Linked DNA regions of Homo sapiens: region 2 is linked to region 1. Evidence: promoter capture Hi-C in human tissues and cell types (Jung and others, 2019). All regions are on one chromosome and are shown on one strand. Each heading gives the region's core, a stretch centred on a gene start or on the middle of the fragment in contact. The rest is flanking DNA. Distances are from core to core; before and after follow the strand shown.

Region 1 (7,666 bases), core at 2,120-4,619:
GCGAGAGCAAAGTCTTATTGTTTTAAAGGAATTATTTGCTGATCAGCTATAGGCTGACTTGACCTCATATTCCTACCATGATAGTCCCACAGTGTAGGGATGGGGTGGTATGACTCCCAAGACTTGGAGTATGTTATTTTCTCAGGGCAATGAAGATTTGGAAAAATGATGGCAAAGACAGAATTACTATCTCATCAAAGACATCCCTCAGCAGTATCTGTGGGCTGTGCAGTGTTCTCAGTTCGATAAAGGATTAGAACACAATGCTTCTTTGGAGAGCTGTGACTTGATACTGCATCAATACCTTTCTGAGAATTGTTTTTCATTTTCTTGCCTCTTTAACTTATTAAGCCTTAGGAGAATTAGTTGAAAAGCCAAGTCTTTGGGGTAGATACTAACATTAAGTCTTCTACTCTGTCATTTGCAATCATAAATTCCAGAACACAGCTCCTAATTCCATTGTGTATTGTTTTCTAAGGGAATGATAGACAGATTCTTTATTTTTTTAAACCTCTAAGCCTACCACACTTGCCGAGTTCCTCACTAGTCACTAAGAAAGTCCTGCCAATCAATGCATGGGTTTATGTCCATTGCTCAGCTCTTCTCCAATCAGACTCATTCCCCCAGCATCCCTGACACACCACTCTAAAATGCGGCTGCTGATGGTTCACCTTCCTCACTTTTGTCTACAAATCTCAATCCTGCTGATTCCACAAATCCTACATCAAGCAATATCATTTTATGAGTCTTTCCACAACCACCCCTTCAGGGGATTCTTCAATTTCTGTCACACCGGAAGTCTTCAGAGTATCACCCTCAGAGCCAGGCAAGAGGGACCCCGGCTAGGGTTTCAGGCTTTAGAGAGTCCAGCTCTGACTCCTTTTGGCCATAGGACTAATGTGATATGCCCACCTGGAGCCTGTGCCCTCCTTTCTAGACCATGCCCTGGGACTCAGAATCCCTTGCCCCAGATGGCCACACAATCACTTTCAGGTCCATTCTCTCTGGGCAGACAACATCACAAATGTGTGTACCCCAAGGCCTGAGGCCAAGAAGGCAGCTTTCTGGCTGTAGGGGCTGAGGTGTTCACACACATTTGCATGGCCCCTCAAGACAAAGAACAAGGGGGAAAGTGAGAAGAAAAGAAGCAGCCAGTGATCAGGGCCAGCTCTTGCAACTTAACCATGTTGGGTCATTCTGATTAAACCACTTAGCTCAAGTGTAGTGCTCAAGACACTTAGCACATTCTCCAGCTGAATTTACCAGTGTTCATGGACTACCTGGGTTAGAAATATATTTCACTATAAAGTAGCATACAAAATGAGCAGAAAGGGAGTTAATAAGATTAATAATAGAGTTAGTGAATATTATGAGCTGAGTTTTTGAGAAACGTAATTTCTTTCAACACTAATAACAACCTTGTGGGGGTTCATTGTCTCCCTTTAAAAATTAGGAAACCAAGGCTTTGCCATGGTCGCATAGGAGGGTCAGAATAGCATCTTTATGACCCCAGAGCATACTCCTCTCCACTCCACCTACCCATGTGTACAACTCAGACACTTTCTGGGATGTCCACGTCAACTATTCTTTAAAGAGTAACCAACAGATGGATAGTTTTCTGTTTGTGAATCAATGGTAGGTGACTGAAAAATTGGTTCTGAGAGGTCGTTTTGCAAGGATTGATGGTCACAGGCTGAGAAGCAGATTTGAAAGACCTACCTGCTAGCAGCATGAAGAGCTGCTCTTCCTTATCTTAGTATTAACTAGTTAATTATTGGAGGTGGGTGCAGGGGTGGATTATGTGTATTCTTAATTGTTGTAGAGTGGGGACTGGGAGTTACAAAGACTTTTGCAATTTTCGACCTTGCAGAGCTGAGCAATTTTCAGTTGCTTTGCTTGCTGATAGCACTGCTTCCCTTATCTACCATGGAACACATCTTAATGAAGAATTTGCATTCACAGCATCAGGTTAATGAATACAAAACAAAACAGTGTATATCCCTCTGATGGATGGGATTTCGGAAGCACAGACATTATACACATATTTGATGATAAAGTACTAGAAGTGCAGGGAATTGAGGTCAAGCTTCCTCCTAAGGGGACTGAATCCCAGAGAGAGCAGGTGACTTAGTAATGAGAAGTGGAGCTGTCTGTTCAACCAGGATGCTCCTCCTATGGCACGAAATTCAGTTTTAAAAATATATTAAATTCAAATCAAATGTGTTAGGTGTGAGTTCTATCCCTACAGGTATGAGGCAGAGGTGGAGGACTTTGTATACAATAGAGAAATAAATACATATATTAGGTCTTCCATGACATAGGATTTACTGACCCTCTCATGGGCATTCCTCTGAGGCATTTTGAGATTTATTGCTATAAAAGAGCCTCCCAAACATTATCTCACTTAGAAAAGGTAATCATATTAATATGATTTTGTTCACAGGAGAGAATTTAAGTGCCACTGCTTAAAGTTATCTCCTTGTTCCTAGGTTTAAGGAGACCTAGTAAATAAGAACATTCCACTTTGTCTGCATCAATAAAGATGAAAGATGACTTAGGAGGTGGGAATTGGAGTGGGAAACATTTTTCTATGTTCCCGATATTCTGAAACACATGTGACTTTATTCAATCACAAGGTAAACAGATTATGTAATTTACCAGAAAAAAAGTAATAAGACTGGTGGTGCTAGGTTTTCATACTCCAGCTATTAATGAATTAAAGAGAGTAACACTCCTGAAAGGATACCATTTTCTCAAGAAAACTGGAAAAGATTGTGTGGCATTTAAAAAATACCAAACTCTGTGGCCATAATGCTCTTAAAATTCATCTGTCTAAAGAAATTAGAAGTGAATCATATTAAATAAGGTTTAGATATGTCCACTTTATCTTCCTGAAAATATAATTTCATTACAATCAGATTTGTCATATTTTATCTGATTTTACTTGCTATTTAAAACACCTTATAATTTACTTGCATATTTAGAATTACAATATTCTTAATATACTTCTTGATCTTAACAAAACCTAGGCCAAATGTTAATCAAATCAAGCTGTTCAAAGTTACTTTATAGCACATTCCTATGAACACACCATACACACAGCAATATCTAGCAAGGGTGTCAATTTTTCGTTATTTTTAAAAGCTCATTTAAAGAAGTTATTTACTACAAATGACTCTACACACACACACGCGCGCGCGCGCGCGCACACACACACACACACACACACAAACCTTTTTAAAGAAACGCTAGAACCCAACCCCCTCTAGGCCAGAGGAAAACATTACAGCTGTATACGCACTTGTGCCTGTTGCCGTAGAGTAATACGGTAGCAGCAGGAGATTACGGTACTAGCTGGGCTACTGCCTGAGTTACGTCAGCGAGAGCTGCAAAGTTCCTTGCTATTCTTTTCTGGTGTCGGGGAGCTGAATATTAAAAGGGTGATTGTGGAGTTACCGGTTATCTGCATTTTTTTTTCTTTTCTTATTTTGACTCTTTTTAAAAAATGCAGGTAAAGTGACAGCGGTTCAGGAGCTTAAAGACATCAGTGGTGGAGGGGTGAGTCAGCGGGTGCAAAAGGACAAGGATTTGGTGCCTCGGAGACACGGTCCCCTCTCCGCCTCCAGAGAAGAGCAGGCAGGCAGCTCCCGGGACCGAAGCCGGGTCCACATCCCCCGCGCGCGAGCTGGTGGCTCAGCAGCGGCGCTTCAGGTGAGTGCGCCGGGGCCGGCGTCCCGCAGGGCCGAGTGGGTGAGGGCAGACCTCCCCCGCCGTCTGGTGAGACGGAACCCCCACTTTTCCCAGCGCCTCCCGCTTTTTCCACCAGGTTTTATACCGGCCCCTCTACCCCACCCCCGATTCCCTTACATCTTCTGCGAAGTTGCCTTCTACTGAACAAGTGTCTTTTTAACCCTGTGTTTATCACCCTCGAGGTAGGAGGAAAAGGGTTTCTGCAGTGGCACGTTTTTAATACCACCTGTGAGGTCTCCAACTTGCGATTTTAACAAGAGTCTTTGCCCGAGGTCCCACCTCAGGGCCCAACCCCAGAAGGCAAGGTGGGCACTTCCTCACGCCGCGCTGTCCTGCCGAGTCCCTGCGGTAGGTTCGCAGTTGTGGAAACCCAGGTTTCTTACGCAGATGGTGGCCCCCAGCCCAGAAAATCGAAGGCGGCCCCTGCCCGCTGGCATGCCGGCTTAATGTTTACGCCTGCAAAATCCGCAGTGACTGTCACTTGCAAAGCTCCCTCTGCAGAGGGACGTCCTCCCCACCCCGTCCCCCGCCAGTCCCGCTACGGCTGGCAGCTGGAGCCCCTCGGGTGGCCAACAGTGAGGCTTGGAAAGGCGTCGTGGACAGACCTGGGTCGCTTTCTGTCTTCGGGTCCCTCCCGGCTTCGCTCGGGACCTGGCTCTCAAGCCAGCTTGGCTGGTGGACAGACCGGTGCGCTCTGCACACCCGAGTGCGAATTCCACCGGCGTGAGAGTGAGCGTGCTCGTGGTCCTGGCCCTGAGGTCCCTGGGTCGCAGCTGTTCCCTCTCCCAGGCCGCCCCCTCCAGGTGACTGCGAGGCAACCTGTTCTAACGGAAACCGAGTACATCCTCCAGAATTCCCCGGCTAGGATCCGTGCGACACACTCGCCAGCCGCAGTCGCCCCTCCGGGGCTTCGAGGATTTTAATTTCGTGGTACCTGCGCTCGAAATCCAGACTTCGAGCGCTGGAGCCTGGGGTTTTGGGGATTTGTTTTTTTGTTTGTTTTTCGCTTCGGATCCTGAACTCGGGCAGAGGTGACTCAGTAGAGTGCGCTAGGCAGGTTCCCAGTGGTGGGGGCGCGAGATGAGCTCCGAAGTCGCCTCCACCGCTGCCGGGCGAAGCAGCTTCTGGACCGCAGAACCAACCCGGCTCCCAACTGGTGTCCCCCAACCCGTCAAGCTCAGCACAGCCTCTTTCCCTGGGGCGCCTAGCTCAAAGCCGCCTTTCTCTTTGCGCTCTTTCAGGTGGACGCGGTCAAACGATGCCCCGCAGCCTCCTGGGTCTCAGCACATATTCCACACCTACGTCCCCTGACCTGTGCTCCTAGAAGCTGGAGAGAGCAGGAGCCTTCGGTGGGGCAGCTCAAAATGTAGGTAACTGCGGGCCAGGAGCAGCGCCCAACCTGTAGCGCTGCGCTACCCAACCATCGGTCCCTGCCTTTGAGCGTCGACGGCTGATCTTTTGGTTTGAGGGAGAGACTGGCGCTGGAGTTTTGAATTCCGAATCATGTGCAGAATGCTGAATCTTCCCCCAGCCAGGACGAATAAGACAGCGCGGAAAAGCAGATTCTCGTAATTCTGGAATTGCATGTTGCAAGGAGTCTCCTGGATCTTCGCACCCAGCTTCGGGTAGGGAGGGAGTCCGGGTCCCGGGCTAGGCCAGCCCGGCAGGTGGAGAGGGTCCCCGGCAGCCCCGCGCGCCCCTGGCCATGTCTTTAATGCCCTGCCCCTTCATGTGGCCTTCTGAGGGTTCCCAGGGCTGGCCAGGGTTGTTTCCCACCCGCGCGCGCGCTCTCACCCCCAGCCAAACCCACCTGGCAGGGCTCCCTCCAGCCGAGACCTTTTGATTCCCGGCTCCCGCGCTCCCGCCTCCGCGCCAGCCCGGGAGGTGGCCCTGGACAGCCGGACCTCGCCCGGCCCCGGCTGGGACCATGGTGTTTCTCTCGGGAAATGCTTCCGACAGCTCCAACTGCACCCAACCGCCGGCACCGGTGAACATTTCCAAGGCCATTCTGCTCGGGGTGATCTTGGGGGGCCTCATTCTTTTCGGGGTGCTGGGTAACATCCTAGTGATCCTCTCCGTAGCCTGTCACCGACACCTGCACTCAGTCACGCACTACTACATCGTCAACCTGGCGGTGGCCGACCTCCTGCTCACCTCCACGGTGCTGCCCTTCTCCGCCATCTTCGAGGTCCTAGGCTACTGGGCCTTCGGCAGGGTCTTCTGCAACATCTGGGCGGCAGTGGATGTGCTGTGCTGCACCGCGTCCATCATGGGCCTCTGCATCATCTCCATCGACCGCTACATCGGCGTGAGCTACCCGCTGCGCTACCCAACCATCGTCACCCAGAGGAGGGGTCTCATGGCTCTGCTCTGCGTCTGGGCACTCTCCCTGGTCATATCCATTGGACCCCTGTTCGGCTGGAGGCAGCCGGCCCCCGAGGACGAGACCATCTGCCAGATCAACGAGGAGCCGGGCTACGTGCTCTTCTCAGCGCTGGGCTCCTTCTACCTGCCTCTGGCCATCATCCTGGTCATGTACTGCCGCGTCTACGTGGTGGCCAAGAGGGAGAGCCGGGGCCTCAAGTCTGGCCTCAAGACCGACAAGTCGGACTCGGAGCAAGTGACGCTCCGCATCCATCGGAAAAACGCCCCGGCAGGAGGCAGCGGGATGGCCAGCGCCAAGACCAAGACGCACTTCTCAGTGAGGCTCCTCAAGTTCTCCCGGGAGAAGAAAGCGGCCAAAACGCTGGGCATCGTGGTCGGCTGCTTCGTCCTCTGCTGGCTGCCTTTTTTCTTAGTCATGCCCATTGGTAAGTCTTGAACACCCCTCACTTTAGCATCTGGGGGTCTTCACCCTCCTCGGCTTCTGTTACCCCAGACTCCCAGTCCGGGATGGAAGAGGAAGGATTAGCATTTCAAACAGCACAGCTCTAGGGCAATTAGAAAAGGCTCCCTTGTAGAAAAGTGAATTTTCATTCTCTTTCTACTCCAGTCTCATTTATATTAGGTCCTAGAGCACTTTTTCGACTGTAAAGTGGCTTCCAACTGATGCAGATTAATTGGTCTCTTTAATAAGAATGTCAACTTTTCTTAATGCCTATAAGCACGTGTTCAATTTAAATGCATCTGCTCTCTCTAGTCTCAGAGTCTCCACCAAGTGCTTAGGCTGACTGTGGAATGCCATTTTCACTCTGCTACAGAATGCAAATTCTCTTGGCCTGAAAATAAGTACCATGCTTATTCTGGACAAATGTGTGATTTTATTATTGCATTAGGTTATTCATAAGGGTTTGTTATAATGGTCTGTTTATGTTCTATATCTGTGCTAATTTTATTTTCTGGATTCAGTATGGAAGGAATTATGGTCAGCCACTAAGAAAAAAAAATGATTTTATGTCCAAACCAATTTAAGCCTTAAATAATTAATCATAGTATTTCCAATAAGTAAATACTTATTTTTTTATTTTAATAATAAGTATTAAAACAAACACTTCTCTTATCCAAAATCATCCGGGAAGTTGCAGATAACACTGTTTGAAAATAATACAGTACACATAATGTTACAAATCCAATTTTTGCAGATGCTAAATTAGCTGTTGTCAAAATTAATTAGCTCATTATAAGTATCAGCAAGCTGATCCACTTGGAATAGACATCTATCTCCTTCAATGAGATCCCAAAATGGTTGTGTGCTATTTTTAGTTTGTAAGCTCAAATACAGACCCAAACATCGATTATCCACCAACTCTAAAAAACAAAACATTATGCCTAACATTAATAAAAGTCCATTTCAAGTGCTTTACAGCCTAATTTAAATGGCATATACTTAAAGTACTTTAATTTGCAACTCTGTGGAATAATAGCAACTATTATTTTTTTGTGCCACTTATGTTCCAGACATTTTCCTAAGCTTTTT
Region 2 (7,666 bases), core at 2,880-5,379, 350 kb before region 1:
AAAGTGTATAATTTGATAAGTTTTGACACATATGTACATGTATAAATTTATATCCACAACTTTCCAAAGTTTCCTGTGGCCCTTTATACTCCTTTCTTCCCACCAATTTCCTCCTCCTCATGCCCAGGTAAGCACTGATCTTCTTTCTGTAACTACAGATTAGCTTGAATTTTCTAAACTTAATAGGAATCATATAGTATGTACTCTTTATTTGGTCTGGCTTCTCTCATTAAGCATAATTATTTTGTTTCATATATGTTGTTCCATATGTCAATAGTTCATTGCTTTATTTTATTTCATTTGTTTGTCTATTTGTTACTAAGTAATATTTAATTGAATGGATTTACCAAAGTTTATCTGTTTACTGGTTAATGAATATGTGGGTTGTTTCCAGTTTTTGGGAAATAAAAATAAGCTGCTATGAGCATTCATGGACAAGTCTTTGTGTGGACATATGCTTCCTTATCTCTTGGTTTTATACCCAGGAATAGCATAGCTAGGCCATATGGTTAGGCATATGTTTGACTTCTTAAGAAACTGTTCAACTGTTTTCCAAAGTTGTTATAACATTTTACATCACTATTAGCAATGTATGAGAATTCCCAGTTCATCCACATCCTCACTGGCACTTGGTATGGTTAGTCCTTTGAATTGCAGCCACCCTAATAGGTATGCAATGGTATCTCATTGTTGCTTTTAGTTTGCATTCTCCTCATCATTAATAATGTTGAGCATCTTTCCCCATGCTTACTTCTCAATTGTATGTCTTCTTTGGAGAAGTCTCTGTTTACATCTTTTGCCCTTTTTTAAACTGGATTTCTTGTTTTCTTATTGTTGAATTGTTAGCATTCTCACTATATTCTGGATACAAGTCAATTAGCACATTTTTTCACATATTTTCTCTCAGTCTGTGGCTTGTTTTTCTATTTTCTTAATGGTTTCTTTCGAAGTTTTTAATGTCAGTGAAGTCCGTTTGATCAGTTTTTTTTTTCTCTCATAGATTGTGCTTTTAGTGTCACAGCTAAGAAATTTTCACCTAATTGGAGGTCACAGATATTTTTCTCCAGTGTTGTCTTCTAGACATTTTATAGCTTTAGGTTTAAATTAAGTCTACGGTCCATTTTGCATTAATTTTTTTAATATATCATCTGAGTATACATTGATGCTCATTTTTTGCATATATATATTCCATTGTTCCAGCACCTTTTGGTGAAAAGACTATCATTTCTCCACTTATATTTATACTTTTTGTAATTGTCTCACAGTTCTTGGATATTCTAGTCTGTGTTTTTAATATATATTTTTTAATCTTTGCATTCAGTTTTAGAAGTTTCTATTGAACTTTCTTCAAACTCACTGATGTTTTCCCTTTGCAGTGTTCAGTCAATTTATGAGCCCATCAAAGGAATTATTAATTTATGTTACAGTGTTTTTTTATCTCTAGCATTTCCTTGTGATTATTTGTTAGATTTTTCCATTTCTCTGATTACATTGCCCACCTTTTCTTTTATCTTTCCCAATTTCTCCATTAGAACACTTAGTATATTAGCCATAGTTGTTTTAAATTCTTGGTCTAACAATTCCAATATATTTGCCACATTTGAATCTGGTTATGATGATTGCTCTGTCTTCAGAATGTGTTTTTGGTATTGTAGCATACTTTGTCATGATTGTAGTATACTTTGCTCGATATGATTTATTGGGTAAAAGAAACTGTGGTAAACAGGCTTTTAATGTGAGACTTCATCTGTCTAGGAGTTACACTGTGTTTACTGTTTGCTATAGTTGTAGGTCTCAGAGGCTAAATTTCTTCTGGCATCCTTGTTTTCTCTCCCCTGCTGTCTTTAGGTTTCCCTAGAGTCTTCTTCTTAAATAAGGTCTGAGATATGCATTTCTTCCAGTTGTATCCCCCTGTTATTAAACAGGAGCTCTATTGATATATTAGTGAGGTGTGGAGGAAAGGGGAGTGCTTGAAGTCTTATTATTATAATTCAGTCATTTAGTGAGCCTGTACCCTGGGCTGTGACCTATACAAGTGCTTCTCAGTCCTCTCCTCCTTAGGTGAGATAGGAAGGATAGAGATGTCTGAACTTTGGTATTTCACTTTCCCCAGATTGGTTAGGCCTTAGTAAAACCCCAGTCAGTTAGGATCTGGTAAAATAGTTTATTTTGAGAGTAGGACTTGTTATGAAGAACAGAATTCTCTGGGCATACTTCAAAATTGCTATTTTACCTTTCCCTGCTGGAAGCAAGAGGGGATTTTTCTCTGACCTTCACTATGAGAAGCTGGTAGAGATCCTGGAGGAAAAATTCACAAAACATGGGGGCTCCACTAAGACTGGCCTCTCCTGGAGTTTTAAACCCTAAGACTTGTTCTTGCTGAGCCCCCAGCAATCTTTCAGCTACAGTTTAGATTTTACTGCTCCAATACTGGTTCCTACAGAGGTTTCTGCTCTGGTAAGTTGTGATTCTCTGTATCAGTCTGTTTCTTTAATTTTGGGGACAGTGATTTGCCCCATGACCTCAATTCTCTGATGGATCTATGAAGAGTTGCTGATTTTCAGTTTGTTCAGTGTTTTTTTTTGTTATGAGCATAGCCAACAACTTTCAATTCTTTATATGCTGAACCAGAAACTGGGAGTCTGTCCTGACTAGCTATTTGGCAGTTGCATTGTGGCTTAATATAATCAACATTTCAGTTTGTTTGAGTTCAATAGGCTTTGGCTATAAAAATATCCTGCTTGGGTTTCATAACAAAGAGAGCCAGGCTATTTTAATTTCCATACTTTATGGAATTGTATGTGGGCATCAGATAAATAATTTGTTTAAAAGTATTTTCTAAGATTTTTTCTAAGTATTTTCTAACTATTTTTCTAAGATATTTTCTAAGTATTTTCTAATATTTTTGTTTAAAAGTATTTTCTAGAATTACTTTTTTCCTTTTTCCTTCCTTTCCCTCTCTCCCTGCCTCCCTCCCTTCCTTCCTTCCTTCCTTCCTTCCTTCCTTCCTTCCTTCCTTCCTGTTTTCCTCACTGCATCAATCTGACACTAAAGTTACTTCTTTGTGATAAGAATAATGGATGTTATTGCCAAAATTTTATGAATATGTGAATCTAGATTTCAAATGACTTGCCTCAGGCCATCTCACTGGTCCCTGGCTGAGAGAAGAGTGGAAAAGTTAACTTCCTTCTTCAGCTGTCTTTAAGCTTTTTTCAGGATGAACACAGAACCTATTGTGGGGAGAAAGAGCTAAGAGATATTTTAAAGGACACATCACTCTTTCATATTTTTATCCCATGCCCTCACCATGTCTCCAAAGTAGGTGCTAAATATAATATTGTAAGTAATAATAGCTATGATTTATAACAGAACAGGTATTACTTTATTTTTTGCTTTATATAAATTATTTTTATTCCCCCCATTCTAGGAATGTTGGGTTCAAAATACACATTCAATTAACTTTAAATATCCATATAATCATCACAAGGCTAATAATCAATAAACTATCGGTTTTAAGATATTTTTATTTTTCAAAACTAAATACTTTCAGATGATTGGTTATTTAAAGATAATGCCTTATTTAATACCAAATACCAAATAAAACAAGAAGATGGTCCAGAATTCTTGGTGTGAAAAGTAAATATTTTCAAAAGTTAACCTTATGAAATACAAAATAGATACTGAACTAGGATTTTAAATTAATGTCAATCTTTTTACCTAAAACAATGATTTTTCAAATTTAAAAATTGCATAGAACACAATTCAAAATGTCATTTTCCCCAGTTTAAACATAATAGCAAAGAAAAGAGTTAATTTTGTCTACTAATTTTATATAATACATAATGTAAAACACATATATAATGTTTGTATTTTATTTATTTATTTATTTATTTATTTTATTTTACTTTCAGTTCTGGGATACATGTGCAGAATGTGCAGGTTTGTTACATAGGTATATATGTGCCATGGTGGTTTGCTGCACTCATCAACCCATCATCTAGGTTTTAAGCCCCGCATACATTAGCTATTTGTCCTAATGCGCTCCCTCCCCTTGCTTCCCAACCCCGACAGGTCCCAGTGTGTGATGTTCCCCTCCCTGTGTCCATGTGCAGAACGGGTATTTCAAATATACAATTTGTATTGATCCTCCTAAAAATAAAAGGAGGTAGACATATTTCCACTTTATTACTAGTGAGAAAACTAGAGGTAACTTGCTCAGGGGTGTGCGGAAGTATACAGGATGGCCATTCATTAAGTGCTCATCAGATTCTAACGTTGTTCTTCTTTTAGCTGTACAAAACTGCCAAGCTCTGGGGTCACTGCCATACTTATTTACCTGCTCACTGAGGGGAAAATACAAAATTAAAACTCAGATTCCCATGTAGAAACAAGAAGCATACATGCAGTGTACTTGGGAGGGAGCCCCAAACCCTGAATTCTATGAATGCTGCAACTGGATGTTTGAGAGAAATGTTTCTCAATGTTCTCTGGTTACAAGCACGTATCCAGTATAAGCAATTTTTTCTTCAGGCAAATCTGATATATGAAAATCCCCGTTTGCAGAAAAGATAAATTAGAGGATATTTGCTTTGCCCAAGAATTTCTTTGAATCACAGATCCCGTTGCCTTAAAATGTAACACAATGGAAACAAATCATTCCATAATTCATTTAGCAGCACCAGGACTCTTGCTTACAGCAATTCTCCAAAATATTTTACGCTCTGTTGATATGCCAACAAAAACATTCTGACTTCAGTGAGGATGAAGTAGCATTTTTACACTGAGTTTCCGTATTAAGGCACGGTACTGGGTATCAGCATGAACTCTCACAAGAAATATGAGTGCAGTTGCAGTATGATAGTTCTCATTTTATAGATGAGCAAACCAGGACTCAGGGAATTTTAAGTAATTCACCCAAAATTATACAGTCAAGGGTATGAAGAACAGGCATCCCTCGGTGGTATCCATGGGGGATTGGCTCCAGGATCCCTGAAGATATCAAAACCCAAGGATGCTCAAGTCCCTGGTAGAAAATGCTGTAGTATTTGCATGTAAACTGTGCAAGACCAGTCCCGGTGGCCCACGCTTGTAATCCCAGCACTTTGGGAGGTTGAGGCGAGCGGATCATCTGAGGTCAGGAGTTCAAGACCAGCCTGGCCAACATGGCAAAACTCCATCTCTATTAAAAATACAAAAATGAGCCAGGCCCGGTGGCACACACCTGTAATCTCAGCTACTTCGGAGGCTGAGGCAGGAGAATCACTTGAACTCGGGAGGCGAAGGTTGCAGTGAGCCGAGATCTTGCCGCTGCACTCCAGCCTAGGTGACAGAGGCTCTGTCTCAAAAAAAAAAAAGAAACATACAAAAACCCCAAAAACCCCCCAAACAAAAAACTGCACAGTCTCCAATATATTTTACATCGTTTCTAGATTACTTATGATACCTAATACCACGTAAATGCTACGTAAGTAGTTGTTAGACTGTATTGTTTAGGGAATAATGACAAGAGAAAAATCTGCACATGTTCGGTATAGATGCAACCATCCTTTTTTTAAAATATATATTTGATCTACAGTTGAATTTACGGATACAGAATCTGTGGATGCAGAGGGGTGGCTGTAATTGCTAGCTTTAAGGAGCAGCTACTCTAACCTAGGCATTGTCCTAAGCACATTATGTGTTAACTCACGAAAGCCTCATAACAGCTCTTCTGGTAAATACCAGTAATAGCCTCACTTTACACATAAGGGAACCGAGGTAGAGTGTTTAGTAACTTTCCTTAGATCCCAAAATTAGTAAGAGGTGGATGTGAGTTTTAAATTTAGGCGATCTGATCAAAATCCATGCTCATAATCATATTCCTTCCTGAATGGATGTGTTAAATAAGAACACAGTGCAACCACTAATTTTAAAGCATATTTACTTTAATATACCCCCAAATTTTGTTGGTCTGCACAACACTGAGAGGAAATCCAAACAACCAACAAAGGCCCTATGTATTTTGATAGCAAGAGGTAAACCAGCTGGAGTGAATGTACCCTATGCTAGAAAGGCGGGCTACAAGCATCTCGGATACAGAATTCCCAGTTGTTTTTGTTTTTTTCATTCTGAGGAAGGTAGTTCCAAACTTGGTTCGAAGAGCTTAATAAGATCATTAAAAATCTGTATTAAACAAATTTTGTTCTGCCTTCCTTACCACATTGGCTTCCATTTGGGTTGGTTACCTCGTGGTCACAAAGTGGCTGCTGTTGTTGCTTTGGGAATTATATTCTCGCACAACTGCATCCACAAGCAGGAAGAAGTTTCTCCTGCCCACCTCTTCTTCTTTGGGAAGAAAACCCAAATCTGTACACTTCTCTTCAGGTCTTCTGGACTCATGTGGTCATGTTCTATGTTCAGGTTGCCAGGCTGGTAGAAAGTAGGGAAGACTTCCTCCAAAAAGGCCAGGCTGCAGTGGTAGGCTGCAGGTGTGTCACATCTGTTCTAACACTGCTGCTCACCCCTTGTCATTCTGTGCTGATTACAACACATGGCAGAGGCAGAGCTTAAACCAGAAAAGGACTTTGCAATGTCTGCAAAGAGCTGTTGTCACCGGATAGAAGATCTCTTAGATTTGTGGCATTCCAGATCAAAGGTTTGAGTAGGTGGCTAAAAGAGAAGACCAAAGAGGTGTTTAGCGGATTGGGGAAAAGAAGGAGGAGATGGGTTGAGAAAAATAGGTGGTGGATTTTTATCTGACATGGGTTAGGCTGGAGATGGCAAAATATTTTCATTTCTTATGCCAACTTCAATCTCTGGAGCTATCTGTAGGCTCTGGGACCCTGTTTTGGGAAGAATTCTCCTGGTAGAGAGAACATTGACACTTCTAGTCTCTATGTTGAGAATAAAGTAGGAGGTCAGGCTGTCAGTAACGAAGATGCATGGAACAGCTATTGGGTAGGAAGCCAATATAATGCCTCCCCCACAAGAAAGCTTCCAGGTTTCATATTCAGGACTAGACTGTGACTGAACCTATCCCTGCTAATTGGCAATTCTGAAGCAGTTATTATTCCAGATATTGCTGATTAAATGGGGAGCCCAGAATGTTCATCATTCTCCAGTCAAAACTATAGTAGGCCAGGCATGGTGGCTCATGCCTGTAATCCCAGGACTTTGAGATCCATCTGAGGCGGGTGTATCACCTGAGGTCAGGAGTTCGAGACCAGCCTGGCCAACCCCATCTTTACTAAAATACAAAAATTAGTTGGGCATGGTGGTGCATGCCTGTAGTCCCAGCTACTCCAGAGGCTGAGGCAGGAGTATTGCTCGAACCCGGGAGGTGGAGGTTGCAGTTAGCCAAGATCGTGCCACTGCACTCCAGCCTGGGTGACAGAGTGAGACTCCATCACAAACAAACAAACAAAAAAACTATAGTGGCATAATATCCTGACATGTTCTTGACAAATCTATTGACTTAATGTTTCCTTCATTTAATCATAGACTTTTGGGCTGGACAATCCCTTAGAGACCATTAGTCCATATCCTTCATTTGCCAGACGAGGAAATTCATGCTTAGAGAGAGAACATGACTCTTCCAAGATCATACAGATCACACAGTGGTAAGGGCAACATTTCAGTTCAAATCTCTTAATTCAAAAGTTATTTCAGATTGCCCAGGCTGCATCTT

Evidence for each region. The method cuts DNA at HindIII sites, captures the fragments that hold promoters and counts their contacts. A contact is called where the count stands out against the background at its distance.
Region 2: a contact is called between a fragment that was not itself captured here and the fragment with the promoter of ADRA1A in region 1, in 1 of the 25 tissues and cell types used here (small bowel).

Annotation. Positions count from the first base shown.
Region 1 is chr8:26,862,981-26,870,646 of GRCh38, reverse strand. ADRA1A (adrenoceptor alpha 1A) reads left to right here and starts at 3,369. Exons shown (of 3, transcript NM_000680.4): 1 at 3,369-3,711; 2 at 4,992-6,560. The coding sequence starts at 5,678. RefSeq lists an enhancer at 4,148-5,099. The HindIII fragment of the contact is 8,811 bases long and covers 1-7,666 here.
Region 2 is chr8:27,209,024-27,216,689 of GRCh38, reverse strand. LOC105379340 (a long non-coding RNA gene) reads right to left here. Exons shown (of 5, transcript XR_949607.3): 5 at 5,907-6,648. Among named protein-coding and RNA genes, the nearest start is that of STMN4, 46 kb to the left of the region's middle. The HindIII fragment of the contact is 6,971 bases long and covers 644-7,614 here.